Linked DNA regions of Homo sapiens: all the other regions are linked to region 3. The links are contacts of gene promoters, found by promoter capture Hi-C in human tissues and cell types (Jung and others, 2019). All regions are on one chromosome and are shown on one strand. The core of a region is centred on a gene start or on the middle of the fragment in contact, and the rest is flanking DNA. Distances in the headings are between cores, read along the strand shown.

Region 1 (2,936 bases), core at 319-2,818, 140 kb after region 3:
CTCGGGAGCCACGGGCACTACCCCCAAGCTGGAAACGGCTCTCATAGAGAGTGGGGCAGAGGTGCCAGCGATTGGCCCGGTAGATGCCCAGGTAGGTGTAGACATCAGGCTTGTAGGTGAGCAGGCACTTAATGCCCGCTGCACGGATGGCTGAATCCGCCTCCAGTACACCCAAGCGGTCCGTGAAGTCGTCCGTGTAAACACAGATGACCTGGCGCCCACCCTCCTTGGCACGTGGGCTCACCTTGGCCACCTGAAGCTGGCCTTCAACCACGGCCCGGGCAATGCCAGCCCAGGCGTGGTCCAGCTTGAAGCCCGGTGCCAGATGCATAAGCCACTTGCCCGAGAGCACGTGGTGGGTGATGGCGAGCTGGCGCAGGGTACCCGGTGTGATGGGCCGCCCACTGGTCTGCAGAGCTTCCCAGGCTGCCTGCAGGCCCTGCACGTCCCCGGAGTTGGGGCTGTAGCCCTGCCCATACACTGCAATCCAGCCCACAGGCTCTGAGTTGGGTGAACCGGGGTCCCCATAGCGGGTAACTTGGGATGGTGGGTACTTGGCCAGCCAGGCATCCAGCTCAGTGGCAGGCGTTGTGCGGGCATCAAACACTAGCCAGGGGTCCATGTCAGCTGCCATGGCCTCTGCAGCCAGGTGCTCGGCGGTGAAGCCATCCTCACGGCCACCTGGAGAGCCCTCCTCTTCCAGCTCCTCACCTGGTTCCATCCTGCTGTGAGGGAACCGAGTCAGGGCAGGGTCTGAGACAATAACTACAGATGCCAGGCACTGGATTAAACTGTGGCCTTGAGTAAGAGTTACTGTCGATGCGCCTCAGTTGCCTCATCTTTACAATGGGATAACAACTGTTCCTGTCCCGTAGATCTGCTATGAAAATTAGATGCCTGAGGAGTCAGCGCTCCAGAAGGGTTGCTGCAGTTATTACTATTCTCCTTGACTTACAGAAAAGGAAACTGAGGCTGAGAAAAAGGACTTGCCCAAGGTCACACCTGCAGTGCGTGGCAGGGCCGAAGGGTGAATCCAGGCGTGGGAGCAACCAGCCCCAGCTACACCTCCCGGCCCTGCCAAGGCCCCCTTTTCCTGGCAGGTATCCGGTGCGCTGGCATTTAATAGAGGAACGCAAAGAAGCGCACGTTCGCGCAGCTCCCGAGGCCGGCTCTGTAAGGCCAGGCCTCCCAGGCAGGCGTTATCGGGCCCACTTACAGACGAGGACGCTGAAGTCCAGAGAGGTTACAGGCCGTTCCGAGGCCAATGGGGCGGTTCCCAGACTCGAACCAGGGCTTGTTAGAGCCTGCAGGAGAGCCAGGCTCCGGCCGTGCCGCGCCCGCCGCCATTAACGCCCACGGGCCCGAGCTGTGCTCCCGCCCCGGCCCTGCCCTGCCCCTCCCGCCGCCCGCAGTCACCTCCGGCCTTCGCTGCGTTCGACGCCGGCCCAGCCCCGGGCCCGGCTCCGCTCCTGCCGTGGCTCCGCGCCACCGCCACCGCGCCCCACCCCCGCCACGGCCGCCGCCGCCGCCGCCGCCATCTTAGCGCCGCGCCACCTCAACAACAACTTTATAGACAGGCGCAGCCACAGGGCGGAGCCGCGGGCCTCAGCGGCCGCAGCGGCCGCGCTGTGGGGCGGGGCCGGCAGGGGAAGGGGCGGGGCCGACGGGGAGGTGCTGACTCGGGGGCGGGGCCATCGCGGGAACCCCGGGAGGGGCGGGCCGCGGGGGGCGGGGCCAACGTTCGCTCTTCTGGCCTTGGGGGCGGGCGGGAGCGGCGGTCCAGACTGGGGAGGGACGCGCACCGGCCAGGAGGCTTCAAGAGGAGGGCACTAGGGCCCTGCGAGCGGCGTCTTAACCGGCGGCGCTAGGACTCCGCGGGAAACGGCGGGGGCGGAGCGGGCGGCACCAGGACCCAGGGGAACCGCGACGGGCGGGCGGCGAGCAGGCCCGGGAGCCGGGAGGCTGCGGGCGGCGGCGCTGGACCCGACGCGGCGAGAGAGGCCCCGAGATGCCGAGCAAGAAGAAGAAGTACAACGCGCGGTTCCCGCCGGTGAGCACGTGGCAGAGCCCGGCAGGAGTGGGCCCGGCTCCCGGGTGGCTTGGGCCCAGTTCCCGCTGGGCAGGCGGGCGCGCCGCGGTGTTCGGGGGCCTGGACGCCCCGCCCCCTCCATGCCCTCCCCGCGTCCGTGTCCCCCGCCCCCTTTCTCCGGGGATGCCCCTTCCTCCCCCAGCACCCCCTTAGGGGACGGTGGCGACGGGGTCTGAACTCTGCTCCCCCACCCGCAGGCGCGGATCAAGAAGATCATGCAGACGGACGAAGAGATTGGGAAGGTGGCGGCGGCGGTGCCTGTCATCATCTGTATCCTGCCGGGGGCGGACCGGGTCGAGGGGCGTGGGGGAGGGAGGCAGCGGGTCGCCCTCTCCTGCCCCGGAGTTCTCCTTGACGCTCCTCAGCCCGGGCGCTCGAGCTCTTCCTAGAGTCGCTGTTGAAGAAGGCCTGCCAGGTGACCCAGTCGCGGAACGCGAAGACCATGACCACATCCCACCTGTGAGCGGCGAGGAGCCGGGAGGGGCCGGCGGGTTTGGCGCGGGGAGTTCACACACTGAGGAAGGCAGAGCCTGGGTGGCGAGGGAGGTGGGCGGCAGCCGGGACACCAGCAAGGCCACAGACTGGCAGAGGAGAGGCTGGGCTTCCAGGCAGAGGGAGCCACCTGAGTAAAGCAGGGCAGGCCCGGGAGCGGAGATCGGCCCGGGCTCCAGCCTGACATCTGGGGCCCCTTGCTGCCACCCACTGCGGGTTTGGGTGTCTGGGCCCCTCTTGAGTGCCAGCCCCTCCTCACCTCTTCCAGGAAGCAGTGCATCGAGCTGGAGCAGCAGTTTGACTTCTTGAAGGACCTGGTGGCATCTGTTCCCGACATGCAGGGGGACGGGGAAGA
Region 2 (2,788 bases), core at 1-2,500, 250 kb after region 3:
TGGGTATGGACTTTTTTGGACATCTGGGTGACACGTGAGCGGATTGTGCTGGAGGACCGAGTCATGCTGTGAGCCGAGCCCCGTGGGTGTGCTACGTGATAGGGGAAGACTCCTGTACGAGAAGCAGCAGGGCCGGGGGCATCGTGAATCAGGCTCCGGGATGTGTGTGGGATAGAGAGTTGGGAAGTGCTCTGGACGTAGTCGCCATGGAGGTAACTGGAATGATACGCGCCGTGGTGGTCTTGGTGCTGATGGTAGTCTCGGTGCCGGTGGGTCTGGTGGTAGTGGTGCTGTGTGTGGTGGGGATGGTCGCCATGGTGGTACTCACTGGGGTGGTGATCACCTTGGTGGTACTCGCTGTGATAGTCAGATATCCCACGCTGGTAGGACCCCACAGAGGAATGAGGGGAAATGGTCTCTCCGTGATGAGGAGACTTTCCATGCTGGTGGGCTTCATGATGACGGGACCTGCCATGGTGGTGGACTTGGTGATGGTGGGGCCAGCCACGGTGGGGGACTTGGTGATGCTGGGACTCATCGTGTTGGAGCCCGCTAAGGTGGGAAGCCTCGCTGTGGTGGAAGGACTCACTGTAGGGATTGGGTCCATGGGGGAGGTAGGACCCACCATGGTGGGAAGCCTCACCGTGGTGGGGCACGCCAGAGGAATAGTGGGATAAATTCTCACCGAGATATTGGGGTCTGCCATGGTGAGACCCCCTATGGTAATGGGAGTCACTCTGCTGATGGAACCCACCGTATTGGGACCCATCATGATGCCTCCTGCCATCACGTTGGAGCTCATCATGGTAGTCCTCACCGTAGGAACGGTGGGAGGGGACGGCGCCTTGAGAGGGAGCCAGACCAAAGCCTGTGGGGCCATGGGCTCTGCCGTGATTCCGTGCCTCGCTGTGGTGGTGAGATTGGTGGACATGGGAGGACAAGGCTTGGTCGTGGAAGTCTTGGAACTCCGGAGGGTGGTGAGATTCACCACGTTGGTGGGGCACGCCGTGATGGTGCAACTCGTAATGGTGGAGAGCTCTGCTGTGGCCTGGCCTGTGGTGTGGGGGTGATGAGTGAGAGCGAAAGAACCTATCTGCGTTATTGGTGTCTGCCTCATTCTGAGCCTTTTCAGGCACTGAGTTTTGATCCATGACTGTGCTGGGAACTCTGGAGCCAAAAGAGCTCAAGACCTGGGCCCAACAGGCCCCGCCTGGATTTCCCTTCTTTCCTGAGCCAAGCTCAATGCAGACTGTGGCACTGGGCTTCCAGAAAGGCCTGACTATTCTCGTGGAACTCTCCCCTCTATGATGTCACCAGCAGGCCAGGGCCTCATTCCCAAATGCCTCTTCCTGGGCTATAGTTCGGAATCAAGAATTATTGTGTCAAACTCCTTCATTGTAAATGAGGAAACCGAGGTCAAGAAAAGGGAAGGACTAGACCAAGGTGACCTCACAGGTCACTGGCAAAGCTGGACAAAGAAGTCCATGGGGGCGCCATGGCTTCATCAGCTACTTTAGCCCTGTTGTTGGAAAGAAAATGGTCCAAGTGGTCCAGTCTTCAGTCCCATCTAGAGATCAGCTGGCTCTGGGGTGAAGACTGCCTGACTCCCTCATAAGTAGGTGTGTGACCTTGGGCTTGTTGCTGAACTTTCCCGTGCCTCAGTTTCTTCCTCTGTAAAATGGGAATAATAATACCTAGCCCACAGGATCAAAAAAGTTAAGATATGTAAGCCTTATATTAACAGCATAATACATGGTTTTTGTTGTTGTTGTTGTTGTTTGTTTCTTTGTTTGTTTTTGAGATGGAGTCTCGCTCTGTCGCCCAGGCTGGAGTGCAGTGGCACGATCTTGACTCACTGCAACCTCCACCTCCCAGCTTCATGCCATTTTCCTGCCTCAGCCTCCCAAGTAGCTGGGACTACAGGCGCCCACCACCACGCCCGGCTAACTTTTTCTATTTTTAGTAGAGACGGGGTTTCACCATGTTAGCCAGAATGGTCTTGATCTCCTGACCTCGTGATCCGCCTGCCTTGCCCTTCCAAAGTGTTGGGATTACAGGTGTGAGCCACTGCGCCCAGCCCATGTTTTTTTGTTTTTGTTTTTGTTTTTTGAGACAGTCTCACTGTCACCCAGGCTGGAGTGCAGCGGCATGATCTCCACTCATGGCAATCTCTGCCTCCCAGGTTCAAGTGAGCCTCCTGCCTTAGCCCCCTGAGTAGCTGGGATTACAGCCACCCACCACCATACCCCACCCCGGCTAATTTTTTTTTTTTTTTTTTTGAGACAGAGTCTTACTCTGTCACTAGGCTGGAGTGCCGGGGTGCAATCTTGGCTCACTGCAATCTCTGCCTCCTGGGTTCAGGCAATTCTCCTGCCTCAGCTTTCCTAGTAGCTGCGACTACAGGTGCACACCACACCCAGCTAATTTTTGTATTTTTAGTAGAGACGGGGTTTCACCATGTTGACGAGGCTGCTCTTGAACTCCTGACCTCAAATGATCCACCCACCTCGCACTCCCTAAGTGCTGGGATTTCAGGTGTGAGCCACCATGCCTGGCCAATACATGTTAATTGGCATTATTATTCTCTTCTTGATCTTGGAACCCCCCTTTAGGGTTATTACCAAAATTAAACTATCAGCCATCATTTATTGAGGATTGCTTCATACACATTTTGTTTTCTTTCTTTCTTTTTTTTTTTTTGAGACACAGTCTTGCTCTGTCACCTAGGGTGGAGTGCAGTGGCATGGTCTCAGCTCACAGCAACCTCCACCTCCTGAATTCAAGCAAT
Region 3 (2,874 bases), core at 358-2,857:
AAGCTCAGGACGCAGTGAAGGTAAAAGAGATGGGTGGGCGGAGGCAGAGCAGGGTGCTGGGCAGCCAAGGTGAGCCGGCGGAGCAGCAACGCTTCATCCTGGGCTGTGAACAAGGCCTCACCAAAGGCCGCCTTGAGCGCAAGCATGGCGTGCAACAGTGTCAGCTGTGCTGTGCCTAGCAGCCGTACCAGCTGCGGCTTGAAGAGTGCCGGTGGCTGTCCCTGCAGACCCCGCAGGGCCCAGCCCAGCAGCCACAGGAGCTGGGCCTGGGCCACAGGAGTGAGCAGATAGGAGGTGTCCAGAAGCTGGATCACCGCAGCCCGCAGCTCCCGCGCCTCCTCAGGGCTGTGCTCTCGTGCTGTAAGGCTACGCTCCCCCTCTCCCTCCTCAGCTGCCGGCCAGCTGGGTGCCTGGGGCTGAAGGCGTCCATCGCCCTCCTCCACTAGTGTCCAATCCCAGGGACCACCCCCAGTTGGGGAGACCTTATCCGTGAGCAGTCCCCCCAGGCCAGCCCCAACCCGGGACTGGAGCACCAAGGTGTTGCGCAAAGCGAGGGCCAGCAACAGGCTGAGTGGCTGGACAGGGCCTTCCTGCCCCAGCAGGCCCCGCAGCAACCCCAGGGAGCCCCCCAGCAGCCCGGGCTTGCAGCTCTCTAGCTCTCGCAGGCACTCGCAGGCCGTGGCCTGCAAGGGGCGCTGTTCCGAGGCGGGGACAAAGCCTCGCCCCAGATCGCTACCCGCGGCCAGGCCGAGCAGTAGGGGCAGGAGCCGGCAGGAGGCGCCCGAGGTGGGGCCCAGCGCGCCGCCCGCCGCCAGGGCAGTGGTGGCCGCCAGCAGCAGTGGCCGACGGAGAGCTGAGGGCCGCGGGGGTAGGAGGACCAAGGTGTCCAACAGGGAGGTGGCGGCCACTTCGGCCGCAGAGGCGTCGGGCCACAGCTGCGCAGGGTACTCCATGCTCAGGGCCAGCAGGGAAACCTGGATGGGGGATTAGGAGGGAATCACGAAGATGAGGTTCATGACGCGGCGGGCTGGGGTGACCCTGCGGAACGGCGCAGGGGACGCGTGGGGGCCTACCTTGGTCTGTTCGCTCAGCTTCTCACTTCTCAGGTCGCTCAGCAGGTCGCGACCCAAATCCTCCCCCTCGGGACCTGCCATGAAGGCAGACGGGCTGGCCCGGAAGGCCCCCAAGCGCTGGGCCCAGGCGTCCCGGCTCAGGGGCCCCATGGTGAGGCGCGCGGGCCCCTGCGCAGGGAAGAGGGACCCTCAGGCCGCAGCCACCGGGAGCGCGGGGCCCGCTGCCGACCCCGAGGGGCTGCGGTCACCCCCAGACGCCGCGCAGATGCCGGCGGGACCCGCGCCCGGCTCCCACGGTGAGACCAGGGCTCTCGGGGCCGACGCCAGAGCTGGGCGCCGGGGCCCTCGCGGGACAGGACAGGAGCAGGGCGGGGGAGGGTGCGTGCCGAGAGCTCGTTAGGCCGCCTCCCTCCCGCCCGCGGCCCGCACCGAAACCACAGCGCCACCCCGGCCCCCGGCGCCGGCGGTAACGGGCCGCGCTCGCCGCCTGACTCAGCCGCCGCGGGCACTCAGGCCGGCCGGCTCCTTCCGGGCTGGCGGCGCGGGGCGGGGCGCGGCGCGGGGGCGGCCGAGTCCGGGCGGGGAGGGGCGGGGCGTAACGGGGCCACCGCCTCCCGCAGGTGTCGACTCGCAGGTTTCGCGGGGGCTGACTAACTGTCCCGCCGCGCAGGCCCCCTTCCCCGAAACCGCCGCAGGCCGGGGCAGGAAAGGCGGAGGGGAGTGGGTAGGGGTGGCGGAGCGGGGTGGGCCTGGGCCCCAGATGCCGGGTACCGCGGCGCAGGGCTGCGATCCCGCGGCCCTCGGCGGACAGCGGCCCGGTCCCACCAGCGCCCGCCAAGCCGCGCAGGGCGGCAGCCAGCGCGCCCCCCGCCGGCGCCCGGGCACACCGCACCCTGCGCCAGACGCGCGGCCCCGGGGGGCGTGGGTGCGGGTCCTGGGGCTCCCGGAGTGGCCCCTGGGGGTGACCAAGGTGCGGTCGCAGGGCGCCCGCAGGAAAAGCGCCCCAGCTGAACCGGTCCGGCGGGCGCCGCAGGGCTTGGCTTCGCTTCCCTGACGCCTGCCCGGGCCCCCAGCCCGCTCGGCTTGGGGGCGAGGAGCCGGCGCCGCGGTTGCGGCCAGCCAGGAGCTTCTGACCTTTGTTTGCCCGAGGCCGCGCTGGCGGCCCGCAGGGGTCGTGACGGCGAGGGCGGGGCAGGGCCCTAAGTCGAAAACAACGGGATCCATACTCGGGAAGTGCGGGCTGTCAGGGCCTGGCCGGTCACGGGGCTCGAGGCATGCCTAGCGATGGGGAAAACAGGCCCAGGAGGAGGGCGGCCTTGCCAACCGAGATCTGGGGCCAAGCCGGGCCGGAACCCAGCACTCCAGACTTCAGTGGGCTGGATTCTGGCTGTTTGGGGGCATTCGGGGGTCTGGGCGGCGGTCTCTCCCAGGCCAGAGGCCCAGGTTGCAGGTGCCCCACAGACCACCGGTTTCCAGGGCACAGAACCGCCGGCGCCCAAACCTCACCACCCCTCTGGCTCCAATTAGCCGCTTTGAAGATGAAACAGGCCTGAGCCCCCATGCAAGCCAGTGCCAGCTGGCCTCTCCCTACCCCATCCTGCTCCAGATGGGAGGTGGTGGAGAGTTGAGGGGTGGAGAGTGCCAAAAAGGAGGCTGTCTGGGTGCCCTTGGGGATGGAGAGATAGAGACCCACTCGGAGGGACAGGTCCAGCCAGAAGGCCCGGTCCCGGCTCCTCTAGGCCCTGGCTCCACAGTTGACTCACAGGCAGCAGCCCCAAACTACTTCCCTCTAGGTGCCTCA
Region 4 (2,896 bases), core at 130-2,629, 180 kb after region 3:
AACCACTGGGTGAGGGGAGGGGTTTCAGGAGAGATTGGGATTGTGTGCACTGCGCTTTTTTTTTTTTTTTTTAAGACAGAGTCTCGCTCTGTCACCAGGCCGGAGTGCAATGGTGTGATCTCAACTCACTGCAACCTCTGCCTCCCAGGTTCAAGCGATTCTCCTGCCTCAGCCTCCTGAGTAGCTGGGACTACAGGTGTGCGCCACCACACCCAGCTAATTTTTGTATTTTTAGTAGAGACGGGGTTTTACCATGTAGGCCAGGATGGTCTCGATCTCTTGACCTCGTGATTCGCCTGCCTTGGCCTCCCAAAGTGCTGGGATTACAGGCGTGAGCCACCGCGCCCGGCCTGCACTGGGGTTTTAAGTCCCAATAGTTTTAAGTTAGGGCTGGTCTCCTCAAGAAAAAAACTCATACACACAGATGTGCCACATTTTGCATTCAATTTCAGGGGTTCCAGGGATACACTGACGCCCATGTGGAGCTCCTAAACAATCTTAACAGTTCACGGGGCCAGGTTTTAAAAATCCAATCCAGGGCCAGGCGCAGTGGCGCATGCCTGTAATCTCAGCACTTTGGGAGGCCAAGGCGGGTGTATAGCCTGAGCTCAGGAGTTCGAGACCAGCCTGGCCAACATAGTGACCCCACCCCCTACCCCCGCTCCCCACCAACCATCTACAAAAAAATACAAAAATTAAAGGGGCGTGGTAGCGTACTCTCGTAGTCCCAGCTACTGGGAAGGCTGAGGTGGGAGGATCACTTGAGCCCAGGAGGTCGAGGCTGCAGTGCGCTGTGATCACGCCACTGCACTCCAGCCTGAGCAACAGAGTGAGATCCTATCTCAAGGGAAAAAACAAAACAAAACAAAACAGGGAACGTGGGAAGGAAGCGTTCCCTGACGATACTGGTTATAGCGGGTCTGAAGCTGGGCTGTGGAATTGGAGATCTCGGGAAAACAACACCCGTTGGAGCCACGACCCTAGGAGTCCACTAAGCGAGCGCCCATTGTAGGAGGGAGGTGTCTACGGAAAGACCGTGAGGTAGTGAACACCCCGTTGCCGGTGAAGTGCAAGCGCAGGGAGGCCGGGGAGGAACTTAAAGCCACGAAGACACTGACTTAATGGGCTCTAAGTCCTTCCAGTTCTGGGATCCCACCTCCGGGTTAATTCCGCTTCCCTTGAGGAGCGCATGCGCAATGGGACCACTCGCTCAAAGAACCCACCCGACCCGAGACGGCGCGAATGTGCAGTCGAGCGCTGATCCCGGCCTTCCCATGAGCCTCTGGGGCAGGCTCCAAGGCGAGCGACGGAAGCAGCCGCTCTTAGTTTCCGGCAACACGACAGCGGCTGCCGAGCGACCCGGAAGTATTCCCATTTTGCGTTGTCTGGGCTCGGCGGCAGCCGGGCTCGGAGTGGACGTGCCACTATGGGGTCGTCCAAGAAGCATCGCGGAGAGAAGGAGGCGGCCGGGACGACGGCGGCGGCCGGCACCGGGGGTGCCACCGAGCAGCCGCCGCGGCACCGGGAACACAAAAAACACAAGCACCGGAGTGGCGGCAGTGGCGGTAGCGGTGGCGAACGACGGAAGCGGAGCCGGGAACGTGGGGGCGAGCGCGGGAGCGGGCGGCGCGGGGCCGAAGCTGAGGCCCGGAGCAGCACGCACGGGCGGGAGCGCAGCCAGGCAGAGCCCTCCGAGCGGCGCGTGAAGCGGGAGAAGCGCGATGACGGCTACGAGGCCGGTGAGGAGGCGGGGCCTGCGCAGGGGGCGGGTCGGGCGGGGGTCCCGGAACGCGTGGGTCTGGGTGTGCGCGCAGTGTCAGCGAAGCTCTTCAGGCCAGGAAACCCCCAAGCTGTTTACCAGCTCTATTAAATAGTCTTTCTACGGGATCCCTTGAGCCCAGGAGTTAGAGGCTGCAGTGAGCTGCGGTCCCGCCAGTGTACTCCAGCCTGGGCAACAAAGCGAGACTCTGTCTCAAAAAGAAAAAAGTCTTTCTACGGTTGTTTAGGATTAGAGGTTGACTTTCTCCACTCAGCTGCTTGAGGACAGAGGGCTTCTGTTTTCCTCAGTTGTCTGGTACAATCAGATTCTCAATAAATATGTTGAATGAGTGAATGAAGTAGTGTCAGCATATACAGAGGCAAGAAAAACCTGGTATTGGACGAATCGTGTAGGGCGCATGGTAGAGAAATGAGGGAGTAAGATAGACAGGGATGTGAACACAAAGGACCCTGTACTGTAGTCTCTGTTAAGAACTGTAGATTGTCTTGAGGATAGTAGGGAGCCATGGATGTGAGTTGAGGAGTGAGTTGCTCAGATCCGTATTTTGTAAACATCACTGGATTGAGAATTTAGTCAAAGGTAGTCAGGACTGGAGACCAGGAAACCAGGAGGGCTATAGGCCAGGGGAGGGCTGATGGTGGCCTGCACCAAGGCAGCAGCAGTGGGATTGAGAGAAGTGGACAGGTTGGAGAGGTGTTTTGGAGGAGGAATGAACAGAACTCAGCACTTGTATGAGGGTGGGAAGAAGGAATGGAGGATGACTCCTTGAATTTTGGCTTGAGCAGCCAGATAGGTAGTGGGTGTCATTTCTACTGAAATTGAGGAGTAGGGAAGAGAAGCAGATTTGGAGCGGGGGTGGGGGGAGATAGTTCACTTTTGGGGTTGTCAAGGTTGATGGTAATGGGGAAATCCAGAGTTTGGACTGGATAAAGCCATTGGGAGTCAGTATCTGGGTGGCCAGTGAAGCCCCTGAAAGACTGTGACATGAGAAGAGGGGGTCAGGACTAGAACCTGAGAAATGCCCTTATGTTAGTAGTAGGCAGAGAAAGATGTTACCAAAAAAAGGAGACAGAGTAACCAAAAAGGCAGGAAAACCTTTGTGTCATGGGAACTTTG
Region 5 (2,804 bases), core at 226-2,725, 160 kb after region 3:
GAGGTGCCACTGGGATGGAGTCTGAGAGCAGAAGAGGAGCCACAGGGCCACAGTCTGAGAAAAATCCTGCCTCTATGGCATCTTCCAGGATAGTCTGCTTCCCTGGGGCCACATCATTGATTAATTAATAACAGCAACACGGCCCGGTGCAGTGGCTCACACCTGTAATCCCAGCACTTTGGGAGGCCAAGGTGGGTGGATCACTTGAGGTCAGGAGTTCAAGACCAGCCTGGCCAACATGGTGAAACCCTCTCTCTACTAAAAATACAAAAAATTAGCCGGGCATGGTGGCACATGCCTGTAATCCTAGTTACCCGGGAGGCTGAGGTGGGAGAATCGCTTGAACCCAGGAGGCAGAGGTTGCAGTGAGCCGAGATCACATCACTGCACTCCAGCCTGGGCAACAGAGCAAGACTCCATCACAAAAAGAAAAAAAAAAGATAATAAGAATAACAGCAATGCTAACATAGCAGTTCCCATGAGCCATGAGGATGTTCTGTTTGTATCTGCATAGTGATTTAATCCTTACCACTACCCTGGGAGTAGATCCGATTATAACCATCCCCTCCCCATTGCCTATGAGAAAACAGGCACCGAGAGGGTACGGGACAAGTGGAGGAGCTGGGATTTGCACCCAAGCGCTTCCTCTATGCTCTTAGCCATGATGCTCTGCTGCCTCAAAAGAACGGCCAGCTAGTGTTAGTAATAATAACATTTACCGATGTCATCGTTTGGGGTTTCATGTAGTCCTTGCAACAAACCTATGAGCTGGGCCCGTGATTCCAGTTTTGCAGAGTGGGGAGTTGGTCACAGAGCTAGTGAGACCAGGCCTCCAGCCCAGTTGGTCCGTCTCCAGGGCCTCAGCTCAGCACCACATCCCTGTACTGCAAGCCTCAGTGGTCAGCACCAGGCGTCCCATGGGGACTTAAGATTCCAAGGCTTTTGAGCACTGCTAGAAGTTTGGGGTAAGATCTTTTACTTTTTTTATATTAAAAAAATATATTTTTTTGAGATGGAGTCTCACTCTTTCGCCCAGGCTGGAGTACACTGGTGTGGCCTCGGCTCACTGCAACCTCCACCTCCCGGGTTCAAGAGAACCCGGAGAGGGAGAGCCTCAGCCTCCCGAGTAGCTGGGATTACAGGTGCCCACCACCATGCCCGGCTAATTTTTGTATTTTTAGTAGAGATAGAGTTTCAATCCAGGTGGGAGATGGGGTTTCACCATGTTGGCCAGGCTGGTCTCCAACTCCTGACCTCAGGCAATCCGCCCACCTCGGCCTCCCAAAGTGCTGGAATTACAGCCACTGCCCGGCCTGGGGTAAGCTTTCAATGTTGTAACTCCCTCCAGAACCTCATGGCCTATGAAGATGGCCAGGTGGGCCTGGGCCCAGGCTCTGAATGGCCTGCTGCCTCTCTCCTGGACACAGCATTCAACTTCCTGGCTGGGGCTGGGAGTGCAAAGATTTGTTTATTTGTTTCTTTTTTATTGAGACAGAGTCTCACTCTGTCGCCCTGGCTGGAGTGCAGTGGTGCAATCTGGGGTCGATGCAGCCTCTGCCTCCCGGGTTCAAGTGATTCTCGTGCCTCAGCCTGAGTAGCTGGGATTACAGGCATGCGCCACCAGGCCTGGCTAATCTTTTTTGCATTTTTGGTAGAGATGGGGTTTTGCCATTTTGGCCAGGCTGGTCTTGAACTCTTGACCTCCAGTGATCCACCTGCCTCAGCCCCCCAAAGTGCTGGGATTACAGGTGTGAGCCACCACTCCCAGCCTGGGAGTGCAAGGATTTAAATAAAATCTTGTGAAAGTTCAGTTTGGCTCCTTCAGGGACTCGGCCAGGCCGGGGGGCAGCACAGGAGACAGGCTGACTCCCCTGTACAGATGGATGGGGAAACACAGGCAGAGTAGGGACAGGGGACTTACACCAGGTCACACGGGGAGCCTGTGGATGAGGCAGAGGCAGGACTTGGGCCTGGGTCTCTGCGCTAAATGACTCCTGGGCATCCTGCTGAACTCTCTCCCAGAAGGAGATTGGCCTCACATACCCCACTGACCCCTTCCTAGCATGCTTTTTGCCAGACCCATTGAGACTGGCTGAGGACTGGTTGCCATAGAGATGGCCTGTTAGGCAGTTCTACGGTGCGGATGGGGGATGGGGCAGGATGGGGCAGGACACCGATATGCTAAATACCTACCAACAGTTGGTTAGGACCCCGTCGGTGCGACCAGGGCAGGACGTGCGGCTCCAGGCTCCAGGAACCAGAACGGGGCTGCTCAAGCTGCTGTCGACCGTCTCTCAGGACAAGCAGGTGAGGGAGGCCCAGTGAGGACACTTCCAGCTGCCTAGAGCCAGGTGGGTCAGGGAGGCCTGGGCTGGGGAGGCCCTTGAGAAGCCACAAGACCTGAGCTGAGGTCCAGATGAAACTCAGGGAGGCAGGAGTGGGACAGGGACCACAGGGAGGCCTAAGGGCCTTGGGAGAAGCCGAGGGATGACGCCCAGGAGTGACTCCCAGGGATGATGGGGCCATTCAGGGAACACTGCGGAAGGAGCAGGTTTCAGGAAAGATGAAGACCACCTTGATGAAGACCACCTTGGTTTCTGCCTTGGCTGTAGCAGGTCCAGGGCCCAGTGGGACATTTGGGAGTGCAGTCCAGGGCCCAGAGGTGGCCTAGCGCAATGGTGACAAATCTGGGCTCCACCACTTCCCAGCTGTGTGACCTCAGTTACTCAGCCTCTCTGAGCCTCAGCTTTCTCCTCCACATGATGGAGGTGATAGTGAGTACCGGCCTCCTAGGGTCCTTGGGA

The links. The method cuts DNA at HindIII sites, captures the fragments that hold promoters and counts their contacts. A contact is called where the count stands out against the background at its distance.
Region 1: the fragment with the promoter of C11orf68 here is called in contact with the fragment with the promoter of AP5B1 in region 3 in 1 of the 25 tissues and cell types used here (spleen).
Region 2: the fragment with the promoter of CATSPER1 here is called in contact with the fragment with the promoter of AP5B1 in region 3 in 1 of the 25 tissues and cell types used here (stomach).
Region 4: a contact is called between the fragment with the promoter of SART1 here and the fragment with the promoter of AP5B1 in region 3, in 5 of the 25 tissues and cell types used here (H1 embryonic stem cells, adrenal gland, lymphoblastoid cells and 2 more).
Region 5: a fragment that was not itself captured here is called in contact with the fragment with the promoter of AP5B1 in region 3 in 1 of the 25 tissues and cell types used here (liver).

What each region holds. Positions count from the first base shown.
Region 1 is chr11:65,917,494-65,920,429 of GRCh38, forward strand. C11orf68 (chromosome 11 open reading frame 68) reads right to left here and starts at 1,569. Exons shown (of 2, transcript NM_001135635.2): 1 at 1,417-1,569; 2 at 1-725. The coding sequence starts at 1,538. It overlaps DRAP1 (DR1 associated protein 1), which reads left to right and starts at 1,933. Exons shown (of 7, transcript NM_006442.4): 1 at 1,933-2,050; 2 at 2,287-2,359; 3 at 2,455-2,548; 4 at 2,850-2,936. The coding sequence starts at 2,009. RefSeq lists enhancers at 686-1,605, 1,606-2,526 and a silencer at 1,323-2,392. The HindIII fragment of the contact is 24,812 bases long and covers 1-2,936 here.
Region 2 is chr11:66,025,229-66,028,016 of GRCh38, forward strand. CATSPER1 (cation channel sperm associated 1) reads right to left here and starts at 1,251. Exons shown (of 12, transcript NM_053054.4): 1 at 1-1,251. The coding sequence starts at 1,151. The HindIII fragment of the contact is 11,043 bases long and covers 1-2,788 here.
Region 3 is chr11:65,779,369-65,782,242 of GRCh38, forward strand. It overlaps AP5B1 (adaptor related protein complex 5 subunit beta 1), which reads right to left and starts at 1,608. Exons shown (of 2, transcript NM_138368.5): 1 at 1,074-1,608; 2 at 1-974. The coding sequence starts at 1,223. RefSeq lists silencers at 682-951, 1,102-1,281, 1,322-2,061 and enhancers at 690-1,592, 2,322-2,874. The HindIII fragment of the contact is 21,769 bases long and covers 1-2,874 here.
Region 4 is chr11:65,960,355-65,963,250 of GRCh38, forward strand. SART1 (spliceosome associated factor 1, recruiter of U4/U6.U5 tri-snRNP) reads left to right here and starts at 1,380. Exons shown (of 20, transcript NM_005146.5): 1 at 1,380-1,739. The coding sequence starts at 1,427. RefSeq lists an enhancer at 1,238-2,025. The HindIII fragment of the contact is 22,503 bases long and covers 1-2,896 here.
Region 5 is chr11:65,943,516-65,946,319 of GRCh38, forward strand. It overlaps TSGA10IP (testis specific 10 interacting protein), which reads left to right and starts at 1,965. Exons shown (of 8, transcript NM_152762.3): 1 at 1,965-2,307. The coding sequence starts at 2,161. It overlaps LOC105369350 (a long non-coding RNA gene), which reads right to left and starts at 2,009. Exons shown (of 3, transcript XR_950212.3): 1 at 1,922-2,009. The HindIII fragment of the contact is 7,163 bases long and covers 1-2,804 here.